Linked DNA regions of Homo sapiens: all the other regions are linked to region 1. The links are contacts of gene promoters, found by promoter capture Hi-C in blood cells and fetal thymus (Javierre and others, 2016). All regions are on one chromosome and are shown on one strand. The core of a region is centred on a gene start or on the middle of the fragment in contact, and the rest is flanking DNA. Distances in the headings are between cores, read along the strand shown. Region 1 holds the start of CHASERR (CHD2 adjacent suppressive regulatory RNA). Region 2 overlaps SLCO3A1 (solute carrier organic anion transporter family member 3A1). Region 3 overlaps SLCO3A1 (solute carrier organic anion transporter family member 3A1).

Region 1 (4,518 bases), core at 1-2,500:
AGAGAGCTACCTCTTTTTTTTTTCCCCATCCATTTCAGGAAAGTTTAGGTTTTCATTTTTTTCCTATGGTCTTCTTAGAGTTGTTTCCACGTTAAAGTAGGAAGAAGTAACGAAAAAAAAGTGAGATTTGCCGAAAGCAAATGAAACTTGTTTTGCCTGGTTCTCTGGAAGGAGGTTGAAAAGGTAGACTATGATTTTTCAGGTTCAAACTGCTACTCTAACAAACATTGTCCTACAGGGTGGAATCCAGTCAACCGGTATTGAGATTGATTCGCTAAGGCCTCAGGACACTGGACATTCTTTTTAATTGTTTTTTTTGATTTCCATGACGACAGCTCACAAGACACTAGACATTCTTTTAGGCTCTCAGGTAAATGCGCAACAGGCAGTCTACAAATCCACAAATAAATCGCATCTCAACTCGGATACTGGGGCTAGGGAATGTGCTGATGGTAAAACCATTGGTCCTGACTGTGTGACCTTCATGGAAGGCCTGGGTGCTTAGAACAAATATTTTGAGGATATGGCTGCTTGCCCAAGGGCTGTGGGCCTGTATCTTGTTTGCTCATCATCCTGTCAGTCATTTTTTTCTTTCCCTTTTTTTAAAGACAAAATCTGAACCTAGAAACACCGAAGCCAGAGCTTTTTCTAGACGCGAATCCACTATTTGTGCGACCCTGCACTAACCATTCTAGCCTGGCCTAGACCATACCAGGAACCCTCCAGCTAGCCTGGAGGGGTCCGCACTGCGGGGAAAAAAGCAACAGCTCAGCTCCAACCCCAAAGGTTCCATCACCAGCCAATCGTGGCCCGGGGCTTCTCAAGAAAACCAGAAACGCCTACGGACAGTGAATGGCACTAAGGCCAGCCTATCCGCACGAAGGAGGCGGAAGGGGTGGTGTTGAAATTAACCAATAGAATGGAAGAAGTTGTTGTTGGGAGGGAGGAAGACGCCAGCTAACGTGCGTGAGGCCGCTCCCGGATAGGGGATGCAGGAAGCTCGTGGAGCCAATGGCCGCGGCGGGCGGGCGGCGGCGCGCGTGCGCGTTGGCCCCCGGGCCTGCGGGCGGGAGGCGGGGATGGTGGGGGAGGGGAGCGGGCTGGAGCGCGGCGGAGCTCCTGCCGCCGCCGCAGCCGCTGCCGCCGCAGCGAAGAGGCCATGTTGTGTGGTGTGTGGGGCGGGGGGAGGAGGAGGAGGGAGTAAAGCCTAGAGAGGAGACGGGAGAGAGACACCACACACACGGCACAAGATGGCCGGAGAGGCAGCAGCACCCCGAGCTGTCAGGCGTTCCGCCGCGGCCGCGAGGCCCGCCGGCCGGCGGGGAGCTACGCCCGGACGGCCAGCAGGCCCGCGGGAGTGGGGCTGCCGCGGCTGAGGCGAGGCGGGCCGCGCGCGTCGGCGTCACAGCCCGCGGCAGAGGCGCCCAGGGCGGCCGGGCCCACGACGCCGAAAGCGCCGCTGCGGTTGCCGCCTCGGAGGCTCCCCCGGGCCCCGGCGGCTGGACCCGGCGCGGGCGGGAGGCTCGGGCGGGCGGTCCGGCCCGGGACTCGGGTTTGGGCGACCAGGAGGTGCCGGTGGCCGCGCTCGGACCCGGTGAGTGGCTCCCTAGCTCCTTTTATTGTCCTTTGTCCTTGGGAGGAAAAGCAAAATGTCCTTGAGCGCGCGAGCAGGAGGGGGCGGCGGGCCGGGCCTCGCCGCTCGGCTCTTCTCGCACTGCCCCTCCGTGGTCGGGGGCCGGCTCTCGCCGGCGGGATGCGCCTCGGTGCCCTGGGCCCGAGTCGTAGGGTCCTGGGGTAGGGGGCACGCGGGGCCCCGCTGCAGAGCCCGCGGGCGGCAGGTGGGCGGGGGGCAGCCTCGTCGCCGGGACTGGATCCGCCGGGAAAGGGGCGGCGGGTGAATGCCGGCGAGAGCCCGAAGGGGATCGGGCGTGGAGAGCCCCTTTCTGTCCTGGTGAGTTATTTTGATATTTAGGGTAAAAAAATCCCTTTCAGGTTCTCCAACGGAGGAGCTTTTTAACCTCTTTCCGGTGAGGTGGGAACTCATCTTCATGATCGAATTTAAAAGAACAATGGAACCCTGACTACGTTTCAACAAAAATAAAACTTGTTTTTTTCCCTCCTATTGGGTGTTGGCTTTTAACTCTTTCAAAGCCGATTTTGAAACGGCTGCAGTGATACATGCGAAGGTACTTGCTGCTTATTAAACCTTTATGACGTTAAGGTTGTCTTTGAAAAATGCAAGTTGGAGGAGTGCTTCTGGTATTTCAGAATTACGAAGACAAGTTTACTGTGTCGTCAAGGCTGTTTAATGGAAATAGATTTGATAATTACGGTGCTAGCTAGCTGATGACGTTTGGTTAATGTAGTTTATTTTACCGAGTAATGACGCCAAGATCATTTGATCTCCTGATATTTAAATATGATTAAATACACTGTTTGGTACTTTTTAAAAAGGTCTCAAGGAGCCGTTATCTGCAACTTCTCACACCTGAATGTTAGAACGTACTTGGGTCAATTCCTAGTCTTTAAAAGTTCATAATTTAATTATTTTTAAGAATTTATATTATCACAAGCCATGATCGAAAAACTTTCACAAAAGAACATTCTGACACCAAATCTCTTCCTGAAGTTACTTTCTCGTAATGTAAATATGAATAAAGTAGGACTGCTCTCGGTAATGGGCGATGAAGAGGAGCCATATTTGTTGCATTTGTTGCATGTATAAAAATCTAGATATGCTTAAAACGGAACAGTATTTTAAAAGTACAGGTTTCATAAAATTTAGTAGAGTTCTCTGTATAGTCTCTAATCTTAGAAAAATGTTGGAAGGGTAATTTTTAAGTGTAGTGGTTTGAAGAACAAACCAGAAGCGCACAAACCTTTGTGTATTTTAGAATATATTTGTCTTCATTCTGCGGAGCTCTTGTGTTGTAAAGGTGCAGAACTACGTAAAAATAGTGTTGGGCAGACTTACATAGTACATCTGAAATCAGATACTGGTTTATTCGACCATATTTCTAAGGGCATTTTTCCAGTAAAATTGTTTTATTTTTTGAGTAGCCTTCCTATAGTGGTACATGTTACATCAGTTGCGCATATCTTGATTTTACAGAATCTGTCTTAAGTACCAATTTTGGTTTTTCAAATCAATGTTTCTGAAATTTTTGAACACTGAAAGTGGTTTTAAATGAATATTCTGAATCTAGTTCTTTAGAATCCTCTTTGAATTGTGAAATGCAAAATAATTGTTAGCAGTTTAACCTGAAAGATCTTTTTACATGATAAATGGGGGAGGAGAAAGACTGAAATGAAAATGTTGAAGACCCTGATTTGAAATTGAGTGTAAAGGTCTAGATACTGTAAGTTTTAGAGTAGCTTTAGAGACAAAGCTAGTATCCCACTTGGTGAGATCAAGTAACTTGTGGTTTAAAATTTAAAGTAACCAGTGGCCATTTTAACTTCACTAATTTCTCTTGGAGGAGCTAATTTTTAATTGCTCATGATTGTAAAACATACTTCCGGATGGTAAGGGAGATGTTAAGATGATTTGTCTTGAAGAATGGTAAACTTTTTCTTTGTTTATTGCCTGTCATAAAAAGAGGGAAAGTAAAAAAAAAAAGGTTCATAATCTTAAATCAGTCCAAAAATTTGAATTTTCTGTATTTCTGTTTAATTCAATGCGTTAATCTTTAGCATTGGTCAATACAGCCAAAAGATGAGGAAAACAAAGACTGATAGATACTAAGATAAGAAATAACTGCAACCATAAATGTATACAGGTTATGTGTCCATGAGCCATCTCTTCAGTTTGCCCATAGATTTTTGTCTGTGGAATATTTTCTTGTTTCATCACACTGAATCGTTGGCCAAGAAATGCTTGAAAATCAAAACATTAATATCATCTTTCTTCTTTTTTTTAAAGGTGACTTAAGAGATTAAAATTAATTTGGTTGCTGTTGGTTCTGAACAAATAATGAGTTCTTTTATTTGAGGTAAGAGTGGGTTAATTTTTATTGTTTTGACAAAAATTAGCTTATTAGGCTTTTGTTTTATCTTTAATAATTTACATTTCAATTAATGAATGGGTATCATTTTTAAAAGTTGTGATTATGAATATGAGTAAACTATCAAATAATTTGACAAAAGCCTTTAAGCCTTTTCACTGCAGGAAAGATTAAAAGTATATACGCATAGCCATTGTAACTTAATGTACCCTTTGAATAGTTTAAAATACTGAAGGTCCTTTAAGCCTTTGTTTAATTTTGGGAACAAGAGAAGACTGATTAGATTTTGAGGAAAACCATGAACCAAAGATAGCTTTTTTTTTCTGTTTAACTCTGTATATTGTGCAAACAATTTTAATCTTTTAAGTATTTAAAGAAATAAGCTTATTGGAGAATTTGAACTAGTTTGCTATTCATACTGATAGATTTTAGGGAAGAACATTTAAAAAATCAGGTTTTGAGCATAGATTTTAGTTTCTTTTTTGTAATTAAAAAGTTTAAAAACACTTATTTT
Region 2 (5,028 bases), core at 1,905-4,404, 780 kb before region 1:
AGACATTTCTCAGACGGGTCCAACCAGTAGCCGTCTTCCCCAGATCAAACTCACCAAAGCCTCCCCCGCCCTCAGGGCAGCACACTCCACAGCTGAGCAGTTTCTCTCAGCATGTTATTTCTCTCTGCCACAGTGCTCCGGATAATTGAAATGGAGAAAAAAATCAATACTTCCCAAAATAGTCAGTGATGAGTGTCTTGGATCTACAGAATCCTGCTGTCCACCACCTTCACGCAGGCCCCGTCTCCTGTACTTGCCCGGGTGGCAGGCGGGCTTTGGTTCTGACACAGGTGACGTGCCCTTCCCCATCTTTCAAACTGTGAGCCAGCGTCAGCTTTCCCCAGACATACACATACCTACAGGAAGCAAGTTGACACGTTCACACAAACCACCACCTCCCCCATCGCCATCCCTCTCCCTGGGTTGTTTTCTCACACTTAGAACAACAGAGTCACTAACTTCCTAACTAAAATATGACTTTTCTAATTTTGTTCCCCCAAACAACTGCTAGGATTTCTCTCTCTTTACCCGCTCACATCTGCCAGCTTTTCAATTCCCCCTTTATGGAGCCTGGAGACAATGGAGGGAAATACTTCAGCTCCCTTTTGCTGTCTTTTGTTTTCATTCATTGCTTGGCAGCAGGTGAAGAAACACAGTAAGTGACTAGTGAAAATATTCCTGTTCAGCTACCAGAGGCAATTTCACTTCCTTGTGTCTTCCCTCATTTGCATAAAGATGCTTTCAAGATCACCTTGTGTTTTCCCATGCTGTACCCTTTTTTAAAAAGATCCCTATTTTGAGATTCTCATTTATATACATATATGTACATAAAAGTGAGAATAACAAGATCTCTCTCTATACAAAGAGCCTACTGTGCATCAGGTGATTCTTGCTCATTGCCTGTCATCCTTGCAACCACTCTAGGTTGAAGCTGTCTTTATTTTGCAAATGATGCAGCTAAGACTCAAGGAGGGTAAGTAATCTGCCCAGTGTCACATGCTAGTAAGTGGCAGAGCTGGGATTCGGCCCCCAAGTACTCCAGGCTTACACTGTCCCCTCTCCAGCATGTAGCTATGCAGAAACATCTGGTCCATTGTAGTGCTATTGTTGCGCTGGGTGTATGTCAGCATCTCCAGGACAGTGACTACCAGTGTTCCAAAGGCCACTTGCTACCTACTGGAAGAGCTGGTGGCCTTAGGCTCATGGCACAAAGAGCAGGAATTGATCATTCACCTCGGGCCCTACAGAGAGCCCAAAAACAGACATTGAAGAGGGGCAGTGGAACAGAAAGGTGAGAGCGTGGACCTTGGCATGTGTATACCTGTGTTCCGTTCTTCAGCCCCATGAACCTGGGCAACGAACCTAACCTTTCTAAGCCTCAGTTACTCCATCTATAGAAAACAGATAATAAAAGTCCTGCCTTGTAGAGTTATGGGGAAGGTTGGCTGGAACAGTTAAGAATGTGCTCTGCATAATGCCTGGTGCAGAGGAAGCCCTCAATAAACGATGGCTGGCCTTATCATTAATGCTAGCTGAGGAGTCTTCAGGGAGAACATTTTATGAGTGCTGAAGTGTTCATCTGGTGTGTGCGGTCATTACTCTTCCCAGAGCTGTCCATCCATCTGGTCCAGGCCTGCAGCCCTGTTGGTCTTACCTCATACACCATTGCCCAGATCTCCCCAGTTCTCCTTCCATGTTCCAGGGGCATGGTTTATTATCAAAGAGACATTTCTAAGCAGCTCACCTGGGAGCTGTGCTGTACAAGGCAGGTGTAAAGAGAGAGAAAGAAAAAAACTGTACCAAAGGGTAAGCTGAAGTTTATGTTCTTGTGACTTAGCTGGCACAATAAAAGAAATAGTGGTACAGTGCCACCAAACCATATGCATAGCCCCTTTAAGCACATGAGTTGACTGCAAAGCTTTGTATTAGAGAGCTGGTGCCAAACCACAGGCCACCAACAAAGTTGGCATTAATTAATTAATTAATGCATGGAAACAAAGGCCCCTCACCATAAATAACAGGCTACCATCATCTGGGTGCCCAAGCATGCGCCAGGCACTCTTCTGAGCATTTTATGTCTGGTGTGGTCATTTGATCTTCCCACTAAGTACTGCCATCATCCTAGATGTTATACAGATCAGTAAACTGAGGCATAGAGAGTTCAAACCACTGGCCTAGGGTCACACAGAGACAAAGGGGTAGGACTTCAACCCAGGCAGCCTGGCTTCAGAGGCCCTGCTCTAAAACCCTATTGTGCGCCTCCCCTTATGAGCTGTGAACCTAAATTGAGGCAGTGAGTGGGGCATTGAGTGGGATCTCGTGTGAGCTGCTTTTTGGAAGCCAAGAGTGAATATACCCGGTGAAAATCTACCTCTGAACAATAAACATTTCCTTGTGCTTCTTTCAGTACACCTTAGCAGTGCTGCCAAGCCAGTTTTAGCCTAAATTCAGAGAACGTCTGGCTTCTCACTGTTTTTGTTTAGACCGATATAAACACAGGGTAGACAAGAAAATTAAGGGGGGAATGTGATCAGCCTCCGGCTTTGAGAGAAACAGAACCGCTGGTGTGGAACAATAGGCTTCGTAGCCTGGCAGCCAGTGTTCCCGACCGCAAGTCATTTCTAGAGCCCTTGCCCTCTCTGTTCAGCGGATTCAGATTCTCAGCAAAATCCCCAGTGGTCCAGCCTTCTTTTCTCCACTAAGCTGTGCTCTTTCCATTTACAGGTAACCTGGACATCACTCCGGACGACCCCCGCTGGATCGGAGCCTGGTGGGGTGGCTTTCTGCTCTGCGGTGCCTTACTCTTCTTCTCTTCCCTCTTGATGTTTGGGTTTCCACAGTCCCTGCCCCCGCACTCAGAGCCCGCCATGGAAAGCGAGCAGGCCATGCTCTCCGAAAGAGAATACGAGAGACCCAAGCCCAGCAACGGGGTCCTGAGGCACCCCCTGGAGCCAGACAGCAGTGCCTCCTGTTTCCAGCAGCTGAGAGGTAAAGGTGGCCTCATCTGCCTCTGCTCAGAACAGTAGGGGGATTGGGATGGGGGTGATGAATGAAGGGGTGGCACCCAGGACTGGGGTGCTTGGGGACTTGGTGGAGGCAGAATAATATTGGCTTGCATGGCTGGCCTCTACCAGCCAGGTGCTTAACTTATTCCTGAGAAGTAAATAACCTGACTTGCTTAATAAAAACAAAAATAAAGTAGCTACCATTTGTTAAAGGGACCCAGTGGTTAATATAGGACCTGACATTTAATAAACATAAATGTCTTCAGAAGGAAGCAAAATATTCTGTGGAGCTTTTTTGAATTCTTTCAGGCCACCCATAAGCACCTGGAAGCAATAAAGGAATTTTGAAGTTGGCTTCCTTTGCCTGATATCAGCATTCTTTGAAAAGCCACCTCCAGCCGGGCGCGGTGGCTGTAATCCCAGCCACCGCGCCCGGTGTAATCACATCTGTAATCCCAGCCCTTTGGGAAGCCAAGGCAGGTGGATCACTTGAGGTCAGAAGTTTGAGACCAGCCTGGCCAACGTGGTGAAACCCCATATCTGCTAAAATACAAAAATTAGCCGGGCTTGGTGGCATGTGCCTGTAATCCCAGCTACTCGGGAGGCTGAGGCAGGAGAATCGCTTGATCCTGGGTTCAAGCTCACCAGAGGTTGCAGTGAGCCAAGATTGAGCCACTGCACTCCAGCCTGGGTGACACAGCAAGACTCTCATCTCAAAAGAAAAAAAAGCCACCTTCAAAGTACATTTCTTTACATTCACTTTGTCCTTTCATTGTCTCCACTAAAGATGAGAGATGTTTTCCTGCAGAAAGAAATATTAACCCAGTCTTAATGACACAGTCACACTTTAGGATGCAGCAAAGCTCTTGCTATCATTTTTTAAAGAAAAAAAAGTGCAACTTTTCTGACAAAATGGTGAAGCACAAACAATGATGCAGAGTGAGAACCCCCCTCCACCACCACCGCCCAAGTTGTTTCCATCTTCGGCACAATCCTTTAAAGACGAGGAAAATGACAAGGAGCTGAATGTAGCCTGGCAGTCTCAGAAGCTGCTCGGCGACTATCAGGCGAGGTATGTGTGAGGTTCCTTAATGCACACGACTCCTTGCTCAGCTCCCCTGACGTCCTGCTGGATTTTAGAAATGAGTGGGCTCATGCAGCCAGGAGCAAGGTCAGGCACTACTTCCCAGGGAAGCTGGGATGCAGAAGGGAGATGGTCAGTCCCCTCTGTGCAGGAATGCGGCACTCAGCCGGGCCAGCCTTCCACAGCGGCAGATGCAGTCCTCCTGTGCTTTATTTAGACATTTCCTAGCAGTGAAAGTCTGTTTACTAAACTTCTGTGTAACAATGTGCGCCTTCTATAGAGATGCTAGAGATTTGTGGAGAGAAGCTTGAACTGCTTTGTGCTCAGCCCCCTGTTCTGTTCCTCACCAGCCCTGCGATCATTAACTGCCCCCTGCTTCTTTTCCACGAATGTAAAACTGTAATAACACAGTTCCTCACTGCCAGTGCTGTCTCAAGAATGAAAGCACTGCTGCAGAAGACTGTCTGTTAATCGTACCTGTTAGTCCATGAGAAATCTCAAGAACTTGTGCGATTTCTGAAAAGAGACAAATTTAATATCGTAATGTTATGTCTGGCCCCATGTTCCATGATGGTTTCTACCAATGCTGTAATTTGGAATCATCCATAAAACTTAAGTTCCAGAATGCACCGGTAGATGAGAAGGCCAGCCAATCTGTGTCCTCTAAGGTTGCCTTGGTTGGAATGCCCCCGTCCTCATGCACGTGTGCTTAATAAAATAGGCTCACTTCCAGCAGGCCCCAGGCAAGGAGGGTGCCTGCGACTCCCCTAGTAGCAGGAGAGTGATGCCTGAGACTCCCCTAATAGCCATCCATAGAAAGTGTCCTGGTAACTAGACCCCTAGGAATAAATTGGGCAGGCATGAGAGTGTGGCTTTCAAAGGACATCCTGGCCATGGGCGACTACAGTATTTTCAGGTTGCTCCCCACCTCGGGATGAT
Region 3 (4,451 bases), core at 1,292-3,791, 940 kb before region 1:
AGCTGCTAAATGTTAATGAGGGATCAGGTCAAGAGGGGCCCCCTTGACCTTTGCCCTTGGGCTTTGCCACCCTGCCGTTTTAGGAGGGTGATTTATTGAAGTGAAGGTAGAGGGAGTGGGTGGAAAGGAAATCACCCTTTAAAATTTATGACCATTTTCTCTGACATTAACGTGCAAGCCTCTGGCCGTGCAATTAGAGGTTGTTAGGCAGCTACAATGGGAAATTAATTCTGTAGGCTCCCTTGCCTGGTTGTGGGCAGCACTGCTCCAGGGCAGGTGGAAAGTAGGCTTGTTTCACTGGCCTGGCCGGAAGGTTGTAGTGTTCTCCTGAGAAGGGAATGTGAGCTGGTTTAGGTGTGTTGGGGCAGGGCGGGGCTCGGCTGGGGGGTGGGAGAGAGACACTGAATCAGTGCATGAGTGACCAGCTAGGACTGAGCCCAAAGACCTGAGATTCCCTGGGAGGCTGTGGGGTCTGCCACCCAGCAGATCTGTGTCACGGGAGTGGCGCTGTCACTCGTTGAGGTGGTGGCCTGGTTCCTTTGGCCTTAGGGAAGGACAAACTTCAACTCTGAGCCTTGATTGAGTGACCTTGGCCAAGTTACCTAGCTTTTCTGAGCCTCACTTTCTTGGCAATTAGATGAACCAGAGGTTTATTTCACTCAGTAAGTAATCTTTTCTCTTCCTTCGTCTTGGAGGTTTTGAAGCTTCTAATCTCCCATGGGTTTTGTACTTTTTCTTACTCGGGATGTTTGTTTCTCTTTGTCTTTAAAAAAATTATTTTTCCTCCTTTTTAATTTTTATGTTTAAAATATCTTCTATTCATTAACCTTCATGGAGCTTGTCTGTGTGCAACTTCATCTGAGAGCGCTCAGGCTTCCCTCTCTCCTCTGCCCAATGCAGTGCTTTGCATACTGTAGGAGCTGCATAAATGCCACTGGCTTATGGGCATCTGCAGTTCTGAGAGTGAGGGCTGGGGGCTGGTCTTAGGAGGGCAGCTCTCAGGCTACAAATGGGGGCTTGCACCAGCGTACTGGCTGAGGACTGCCTGCCTTTGAGCTAGGTCTTACCCATCCACGACAAAAATGAGAGAACAGTACAAGGTGGAGAGTTTGTCATAAGCTTAATTTATTCAATTTAGAGTCTTGTTCTTTATTCTAGACAATGCCACCACCTACTGTTTTGCTGTTTAAATGTACCTAATTTTAGGAAATCATAATTTTGGATCACGGCAGCTTTTCTTATTAAAATTTTACTTGTAGAAATAAAAAGGTGGCACCTCTGTCATTTACCCCTCAATATTTTATATTTGACTCTTCTGTGAAATCCAAAAATGTAGCAACTGCTGAACCCCACAATGTCTGATCTATAGCAGGCATTTCAGAGCCTCCAGGACTTGATTAGATATTGTTACACAGTGGTGATATGAGAACACACACCTGTCCATCGTTGAGATTTTGTTTTATGTATATTCCTATAGCTGTGCAGGTAAAACATGCCATTTAGCAGTGCTACTATGGCACAACTGCAGGGGGCACCATGTAGAGACCGTAGTTGGATGTGGCCTGGAGTTGTGTGTCAGTGGCCATCCCTCTTAGATTGACGATGCCCAGGCTCACTGGTTTTCAAACTTTGTTTTGCAACAGAACTCTGCTGGAAATGTATGTTTGTTTGTTTGTTTGTTTGTTTCGAGACCGAGTCTTGCTCTGTCGACCAGGCTGGATTGCAGTGGCCCAATCTCAGCTCACTGCAACCTCCACCTCCTGGGTGAAGGTAATTCCCAAGAAGCTGGAATTACAGGCGTGCACCACCACGCCCGGCTAATTTTTGAAAAGAGATGGGGTTTCTCCATGTTGGCCAGCCTGGTCTCAAATTCCTGACCTAAAGTGATCAGGTCACTGATCACTCCTCCCAAGGAGCTGGAATTACAGGCATGAGCCACCACACCCAGCCCTTTGCTGGAAATCTTAAGGGGAGTTCCCCTATTGATCAGACAGAGCAGAACTGCTCTGCCCGAGTGGGCGTGGGGCCCAGGGCCCAGCCGTTTGACCTCGTTCTGCCTCCCTTTCTCTCCTAAAAGCATCTCCCTTGACCTTCTGTCCTTGTAATTAATTCAGGTCTCCACAGAGCACACTGAAAACCTCAGGTCTAGTCTCATTTCCATTTTATAGAAATTGATGGTAAAAGACACATAGCATAAAACGTAGCATCTTACCCATTTGTAAGTGTGCAGCCTAGTAGTGTTAAGGACACTCCCAGTGTTGTGCAATCTCCAGAATGTTTCGTGTTGCAAAACCGAAACTGCACTCATTAAACAACTCCCCATTCCCCCTCCCCTCAGCCCTTGGCAACCACCAGTGTGCTTCCTTCTGTCTCTGTGAGTCTTGCTATCCTAGTTACCTCCTGGAAGTGGAACCCTACAGTATCTGTCCTTTTGTGACTGGTTTACTTCACTTAGTATCATGTCCTCAAGGTTCATCCAAGTTGTAGCCTGTGTCAGAATTTCCTTCCTTTTTAAGGCAGAATCATATTTCATTGTAGGTGTAAACCATATTTTGTTTATCCATTCATCTGCTATGGACACTAGGATTGCTTGCACCTATGGCTGCTGTGAATTAATGCTGCTATGAACCATAGGTGTGCAAAATGTCTTTTGAGTTCCTGCTTTTAATTCTCTTGCTTACACCCAGAAATGGAAATGCTGGATTATATGGTAATTCCATGTTTAATTTTTCGAGGAACCGCCATACTGTTTTTCATACCCAGTGCATAATTTTCATGTCTCATTGTTGATAAAATAGAGGTGACTAGGAGGCTCCAGGAAGAAGCCAGAGCCCCAGAGGACACAGAATGGCCTGGGAATGTATTCCCTCCATCTGTGCTAGGTCATGATTTGGGCATCGCTGGCTTCCTCTCCCCAGAGGCCAGCTCTTGCTGGATTCCAATGACCTGGTTCCCTCTTTGTGCCTCTTCAGGGCTACCCTCTGGTGACTGCCTCCCATGTTGCTTGTCTTGGGTGCCTTAGCATCCCTCGGTGGGTCCCTTGGCTCTGCCTTCACTTCTGTCAATAGACCTCCATTAGCTGCTCTTCATTGGAAACTTTTGAGCGTGCCATTTGCTACCTGCACATCTTGTCTGATATAATTACTAGCAGGATGACCTTGGGCACATTGCACAACCTCACTGTACCTCAGTTTCCTTCATCTATAAACTGCCTCCCTAGGGTTGCTGATGTATGTTGATCTATTACAAAGGACTGAAAACAGCCACTGGCACATAGGAAGCCCTCACGTAAGTGTTCACCATTATTTGTATGATTACCATATCCCTGTGCAAGGTCCCTCCTAAGATGTAAGCTGCCTTAGGTCTCCAGGGCTCCCCCTTTGGAATGTGAGCCCCTTACAGATTCAGTACCTGATTTCTGGGCTTCGAGGCAAGACAGACATGGCCAAGGGGAGAAAAGCAGTATTGGAAGGATGCTCCCAGACCTATCCACCAAAGTGAGACAAAGCATTGGGTGAACCCTCTTCTCAGTACCAGCTTCACAGAATAGTAAGCAGCTGCAGCGTGGGGCTCAGAGTGGCTTTGGCTTCTGTGCTTACTTAGCAAGTGATCCGTCACAAGTCCTGCCAGCTCCCTTTGGAACTCTGTCACCCCGCTCAGCCATGGACAAGCAGACAGCCACGGATATTATGACAATGCAAGTCCTGGAGGGTTTGCATCTCTGATATGGAGGAGTCAGAGTAATCCTTCCCACTCTCCCCCGAGATGCTTTTCAAAGAGGAGCCTGCTTTGAGTTCTGAACATCTGAGTCTTTCACGAAGGAATGTGGAGAAATCGAGGGGGCTTTTCTTCCCTGCAGAACTGATGATGGCCATCCAGAGGGGGAAAGGCACGAGCAGGCTCCCTCTCTCTCTCTTTCTCTCCCCCTCTTTTTTTGGGTGCAACAGAAACCTTGCACTTCCCTTAAGCTTTCTGTAGTACATGTTAAGATTCCTCTGCCACGCCCAAATTTCAACTTTTCTCCAATATTCTCTTTAACTTAGAATGAGGACTCAGGCCCTAATTGAATTGTCTTTGAACAGTTTTTGTTCTGAGCTATGAACTGTATATTCCCTTTATTCACCCAACAGATATTTATTAAATATTTTTGGTTGGGCATGGTGGCTCATGCCTGTAATCCCAGCACTTTGGGAGGCCGAGGCAGGCGATCACGAGGTCAGGAGTTCGAGACACCCTGACCAACATGGTGAAACCCTGTCTCTACTAAAAATACAAAAATTAGCTGGGCATGGTGGCGTGTGCCTGTAATCTCAGCTACTTGGGAGGCTGAGGCAGGAGAATCACTTGAACCTGGGAGGCTGAGGTTGCAGTGAACCTAGATTATACCATTGCACTTCAACCTGGGAGACAGAGTGAGACTCCATCTCAAAAAAAAAAAAAAAATTACGTGG

What was found. Contacts are between HindIII fragments. The CHiCAGO score rates a contact against its expected background, and 5 or more counts as called.
Region 2: a contact is called between a fragment that was not itself captured here and the fragment with the promoter of CHASERR in region 1, in 1 of 17 cell types (fetal thymus). The highest score is 8.1, in fetal thymus.
Region 3: a fragment that was not itself captured here is called in contact with the fragment with the promoter of CHASERR in region 1 in 1 of 17 cell types (M0 macrophages); the score reaches 5.7 in M0 macrophages.

What each region holds. Positions count from the first base shown.
Region 1 is chr15:92,881,593-92,886,110 of GRCh38, forward strand. CHASERR (CHD2 adjacent suppressive regulatory RNA) reads left to right here and starts at 1,251. Exons shown (of 6, transcript NR_037601.1): 1 at 1,251-1,594; 2 at 1,993-2,186; 3 at 3,923-3,992. RefSeq lists enhancers at 578-667, 1,093-1,734 and silencers at 978-1,107, 1,728-1,977. The HindIII fragment of the contact is 7,161 bases long and covers 1-4,385 here.
Region 2 is chr15:92,101,555-92,106,582 of GRCh38, forward strand. It overlaps SLCO3A1 (solute carrier organic anion transporter family member 3A1), which reads left to right. Exons shown (of 10, transcript NM_013272.4): 4 at 2,725-2,988. Among named protein-coding and RNA genes, the nearest start is that of SLCO3A1, 250 kb to the left of the region's middle. The HindIII fragment of the contact is 2,477 bases long and covers 1,917-4,393 here.
Region 3 is chr15:91,940,915-91,945,365 of GRCh38, forward strand. The region is part of intron 2 of SLCO3A1 (solute carrier organic anion transporter family member 3A1); the gene reads left to right. Among named protein-coding and RNA genes, the nearest start is that of SLCO3A1, 89 kb to the left of the region's middle. The HindIII fragment of the contact is 2,849 bases long and covers 1,118-3,966 here.